Linked DNA regions of Homo sapiens: region 1 is linked to region 2. The links are contacts of gene promoters, found by promoter capture Hi-C in blood cells and fetal thymus (Javierre and others, 2016). All regions are on one chromosome and are shown on one strand. Each heading gives the region's core, a stretch centred on a gene start or on the middle of the fragment in contact. The rest is flanking DNA. Distances are from core to core; before and after follow the strand shown. Region 1 holds the start of CCNT2-AS1 (CCNT2 antisense RNA 1). Region 2 holds the start of DARS1-AS1 (DARS1 antisense RNA 1).

What was found. The method cuts DNA at HindIII sites, captures the fragments that hold promoters and counts their contacts. A CHiCAGO score of 5 or more calls a contact.
Region 1: a contact is called between the fragment with the promoter of CCNT2-AS1 here and the fragment with the promoter of DARS1-AS1 in region 2, in 3 of 17 cell types (total B cells, M2 macrophages and fetal thymus). The highest score is 5.4, in total B cells.

Annotation. Positions count from the first base shown.
Region 1 is chr2:134,917,123-134,919,856 of GRCh38, reverse strand. It overlaps CCNT2-AS1 (CCNT2 antisense RNA 1), which reads left to right and starts at 1,251. Exons shown (of 5, transcript NR_036549.1): 1 at 1,251-1,294. It overlaps CCNT2 (cyclin T2), which reads right to left and starts at 1,035. Exons shown (of 9, transcript NM_058241.3): 1 at 845-1,035; 2 at 1-47. The coding sequence starts at 1,002. RefSeq lists enhancers at 436-525, 736-1,005, 1,156-1,315, 1,393-2,066, 2,076-2,125 and a silencer at 1,326-1,395. The HindIII fragment of the contact is 7,926 bases long and covers 1-2,734 here.
Region 2 is chr2:135,983,799-135,986,498 of GRCh38, reverse strand. It overlaps DARS1-AS1 (DARS1 antisense RNA 1), which reads right to left and starts at 1,323. Exons shown (of 4, transcript NR_110199.1): 1 at 983-1,323. It overlaps DARS1 (aspartyl-tRNA synthetase 1), which reads left to right and starts at 873. Exons shown (of 16, transcript NM_001349.4): 1 at 873-1,096. The coding sequence starts at 1,031. RefSeq lists an enhancer at 1,027-1,126 and a silencer at 1,177-1,236. The HindIII fragment of the contact is 7,953 bases long and covers 1-2,606 here.

The sequences.
Region 1 (2,734 bases), core at 2-2,501, 1.1 Mb after region 2:
AAAACCTGTGCATATAAACAATCGCAGTGTTTATTGTAAGCTGAGAGCTGGAACGTAATATTTAGGAAATATCTGACAAAAGCAAGATCTCATTCCCAGAACAATTTTGATGGAAAATTCCCAGGTTCTTTTCCAATACCTCCCATTCAAATCCAAACCCCAAACTGGAAATAAAGAAATAAATGCCCGCGGGGGGTGGGGCGGCAGGAAGAGAATAGGCTTGACGCCAAATAAATGGGAATAAGAACTGCTGATCTTTTCACTCTAACAGCGCTGAGGGCCCTGGAACTATTTATCAATGGCTACGACTAACTAAACTCAAAATGAAACAGTTGAAACGCGCGCGCACACACCCATACAAAACCACGCCAAGAACATAAAGAACTCCAGTACGCTCCCAAGGTAGAAGAGAGCCGCCATCAAGCCGGCGACGAGAGCCGGGAAAGGCTGCGGCAAACACTTAGGCCTTTCAGCATCGCTAACCCTCCTACCTCTCAAACCCTTCGGGGTCAGGGACAAGTCCAGGGAGCCGCCCCTTTTCTGCAATAATCCCTAAAATTCCTCTTTCGCCTGAGCCACACTCCCAACCCCCGCCGCCACCACCACGCGCTGCCCCAAACAGATTACACAACGCAGGCTCCTGGCCCGCATTCCTGGGGTCCTATCTCCTCCTCCCTTCCTCTGCTGACCCCTCGCGACTGCCCGAGCCGGAACATTACTTCCCTGACCGCGGCGCCGAGGCCCAGCGAAGGCCGAGGCCGGCGGCGCCATGTTCGCGGGGCACCAGGCCCGGCGACCGGGCAAGGGAAACAGGGCGTGAGCGGCGGCGAACAGAAAAGGATACACATTGAGACGCTGTCCCATCTCCTGGATGAGGTTGGCCGCCTGCTGGCGGCACGAGAGCTCTTTATCCGCCTCCACTCCGCAGCGGCGGCTCGGCGTGTTCTCCAGCTGTTCCCGAGTAAAGAACCAGCGAGAAGAAGCTCCACGGCCCGACGCCATGACACTTCCTCCTCCGCCCGCTCCTTCATTCACCCCCCGCCCCTCCTGGCTCGCGGACTCCCCGCCAAGGCGCGCGACCCCGCCCCACTCCGCTCGCCGTAGACCACGCACCACCCTTTTTCACCACCGCCTCCGCCCTTGCGCATGCGCGGGGCCCGCTCTACCGACTCGCCCTAGTCTTTTGCTTTCTTTTTCTGCCCTCGGCCTCGCTCTTGCGCACGGGACCACAATGCTCCGCGCCGCTTGTCATTGGGAGGCGCCGAAGGTGGAGAGGTCGGCTCGGAAGGAAAAGGTCGGCGCAGCGCATGCCGGGTCTAGGGTTGGCGGGGCGAAGGGGTGGGGAGGGAAGGGGCGGGGAGGGGAGGGGAGGGGAAAGTGGGAGAGGGTGGACTCTGGCCGGTGTGAAGAGAGGCGGTCGGGCGGCTGCGCTGTGGGGGCCTGGGCGTGTACTTCGGAGGCCCGTCGGGCGCTTCCTTTAGACGGGAGGTCTAGCGGCCCTTTAAAAAGAGAAAAATAACCTTCACTGTCGCAGCCTCACGCCACTACTTCCATTTTCCTTTTGGGCGGGTCCGCGCAGTCTCGTAGGCGTGCGACTCCGGCCTCCGCCACCAACAGTCTCCGCCTAGCGCGCGGCTCTGGCGTTGAGCTGGCGGGGAAAGAGTGCACAGGAAGTCACGCTCCATGGCTGTCCGCACCTGAGTGCTTTTTTCACCCTACATTATCTTGTTTAAATCCCAGACCACTTGGTTTATTTTTATTTTTTCAAATTACTTGGCAAACGCTATCCAACTAGCAACGAGAAATTGAATTTCTAAATGAGGTGTTGAATCTAGACGGGGCGTGTTTTCAGGCTGCGCTGTGGTTTCTGCGAGACAAGGTTGGGGAGAATCAGATAGTGCAGGAGGAACTGAGTTAAAATTTTATCTTTAGGATTTGATGTGGGAACATCCCACATACCTGTTGATTAACTCCTGTATTTCTTCCTGTAAGAAAATGCCACTGAGCTTCACTCGGAGTTTGTGTTGTGAATAGGGTTTCTAAGTTTAAAGTCTTAACTATTTGGAGGCCGGGCACGGTGGCTCACGCCTGTAATCTCAGCACTTGGGGAGGTCCAGTGGGCCGATCACTTGAGGTCAGGAGTTCGAGGGCAAGGGCAACATGGCGATACCCCGTCTCTACCAAAAATACAAAAATTAGCCAGGTTTGGTGGCGCGCCTGTAGTCCCAGCTACTCCCGAGGCTGAAGTGGGAGGATGGCTTGAGCCCAGGAGGTGGAGGCTGCGGTGAGCTAGATCTCGCTGCTGCACCCCAGCTTGGGCGATAGTGCAAGACCTTGTCTCGAAAATAAAAAATAAAGTAATATCTATTTGCCAAAGACCATGGAGGCAAGTGATTGTTATGGGGCTCCCACGCTCAGCATACTGCATTGCACAAGAATATTGATTATAGTAGGCAGTTTTTGTAACAGTTGCTATTTCATACTCACTTCCCTTGCTTTACGTTTTATGTTGCTTACAATTTCTGGAATAGATTGATTTAAAGCAACATTTTAAAAGTGCAAACCCTTGGCCAGGTGCAGTGTTTCCCGGCTGTAATCCCAGCACTTTGGGAGGCCAAAGTGTTCTAGACCAGCCTGGGCAACATAATGAGACCCCACCTCTACAAAAGTTTTTTAAAAAATTAGCTGGATGTGGTGGCGTCTGTAGTCCTAGCTCCTTGGGAGTATCGCTTCA
Region 2 (2,700 bases), core at 74-2,573:
GGAAAGCTACAGGCAAGCAAGGACCATGGCTGTCTTCTCACTACTCCATGGGGGAGCCTCCAGAGAGAGCCTTTCACTTGCGCTGGGATCTATGTGCACCCCTTAACACTTTGTGCCAGACTAAGACACTACCAAGTCAGTTGAAACGACGGAGTGCAAACTCTGGCAGGGGAAACAGTATTAAACCAAATCTCCAAATTATTTTCAATTTCGATTCAAAACTCATGAATGATAGCTTTTTTAAAAAATCAGTTTTTTAAAAAAGCCTAACTTGGGGATATTCGCCCATTGGGCAACCAACACTATGCACTGTCCCTAACACTGCAACAGATCCAGGCAATCAATGCAATTGTATGCGTTTCTTGTTGTCGTTGCCACTGTATTTACACCTCACTTACACAGGGACTGGTAACCCATGCTGCCTTGGCAAGCCAACTGCACTCCTCTGTCCCAACAAGCAGGGCAATGGATTGCGAAGAGGCCTCCTCCGTCCCCAAGCAGCTACGTCGCCCAGGGGAAGAGAGAAGGCGGGAAAGTCCAAGAGAGGAGAAACCAAGGCCCGCGCTTAGGTGGGTGTTTTAGTGACGAGTCTGCGGTTACAGCCGAGCGGAGTTGAAAGGGCTGTTAGAAGAATGGAGCAGAAGTCGCAGTTGGGACGAAGCTGAAGAGAGCTGGCATTCGCCCAGGTCTACAGCCAGCCACCTGGTAACCCCTGCCCCCGCCCCCAGAGCCAATCCAGCGAAACTACCGCGAATTCCCGGGAATTCCCTCCAACTCCGGGAAAACTCCCGGAGGGGCGGGGCAAGAGTGGGAGGAGACCCTGCGCGCGGCCGCCAGCGCTCCGGGATCTCGAGATAGCCGCAGCTCTCGCGATCTTTCTGGAGCCGCACCTCCACGCGGAGTCCGAGCGCGTGTGCTGAGACCCCAGGGTCGGGAGGGCGGAGACTGGGAGGGAGGGAGAAGCCCCTTTGGCCTGCCTTACGGAAGCCTGCGAGGGAGGGTGGTGTCCACTGCCCAGTTCCGTGTCCCGATGCCCAGCGCCAGCGCCAGCCGCAAGAGTCAGGAGAAGCCGCGGGAGATCATGGACGCGGCGGAAGTGGGTTTCCTCCTTTCCTGGGCCTGGGAGGACAGACCCCTGGGCCGGGCTGCGCCGAGGGAGGGAGGAGGGGGAGTGGGGCCCTACAGGTCCTTGTCGGCACGTTCTCCGCAGGCTGCGGGCGTGGGGTCCGGGCGCCTAGAGCCCTTGCCCCAGCAGTGGGGCCAGACCCTCTCCGGACCGCGTTTCTTGCGGGGGTCACCTGGGAGTTTGGCCTACTAGAAGCGTGTCCCCGGGGTGGGGAGGACGGGAAGAACCAGCCGCCCCGGAAGTAGGAGCGCGGCGTCACACTTGAGTCTCTCTGGGTTAGGCACGTCCTGCACGTAATGCACAATCCCTGGGAAAATTTTAATAAGCACTAGTAATCGATATGTACTCAGCCCTCGTGTTCCTAATGCTTTAGCAAGTAATGACAGTACTTAGCAAAACCATCTGCCAATATGTTTAATGACCATTTCCCATGTGACAGCTTTAAAGAACACATGTCATTTTTATTTACTTTCTCCCTCTCAGTGACCCGGTAAGGTAGGTAATAGGAGTTACCGAGAATGCATTTGAGGTGAAGTGACCCCAAATCACGTGGATAATTCATAACACCCAGTGATCCTTCGGTGCTTTTCAGAAATCAAAGTTTGAAACCATCCTACAAGTTATGTGTGCTGTAGTACTGTTAAGCCTTAATTTCCGTCTGGCTCCCTAATTTTTCTATAAGGAGTTCTGAGTTTGTGGTAAGCAACATGAGAAGTAAGGTCATCTTAGAATACTAAATGAGGAAGAGTCACTGAAATATTAATAGTACTAATTATGAATGCAACTTTTTTGTCCTTCACACAATTTAATCTCCTTCTGTTGCCCTCAGGCTTCATTGTGTGACTGTATCTCTCTACTCTGGCCAGGGTTATCTTTTTCTTTAAATTGTTCAGTAAGCGCCTTAAACATGTCTGGTTTTATTTTGGTGTAAACACAAAATCCAGCACCCTCCTGCTCTAAAGGAGAGGATTCCAACAGGTAGCTGTAAAGTGACAGAAACTTAATTGTTTCATACAGATCTTAAGTTACCTTGTAAAAACTAGGGCAATTATTTTTGTGTACTCTTAATCTGCTTAATTACATAAACTATCAGTGTACCCTTACAGATAGTATAGGTCTAGATACAAGGTAGACATTGTGGCAGAGTTATGCCATTTTATAGCTAGAAGAATCTTAGATCATTTTAGAGGTAAAGTAAGATTGAAATAAAGGCCACTTATCTATTTAATAAGTATATTTTGTTAACAGATTGGACCCTAGGTCTTCTGTTTCCTGTTCCTAACTCTAATCTGTAACAAGAAATTTGATATTATTATATTGTCAGTGTCAAACTCCTGTAACCTGGTATCCTGAATCTGGTTTTTAGAAACAGGAAGCTGGTGAATTTTTTGATGATGTTTTACAAAAGGAAAGTTGTAGTTAGCTTATACCCAGCATCTCCAGTTTCTAAAAACTGTGGACATCTGGTGCTCAGAAAGCTTACCCAAAACGTTGGTTCTCTTTGAACATTTCTTCCTGTAATAGGAAGTTAATAAAACTGTGGTACTTCATCCTACTCCCTTCACAGAGGAAAT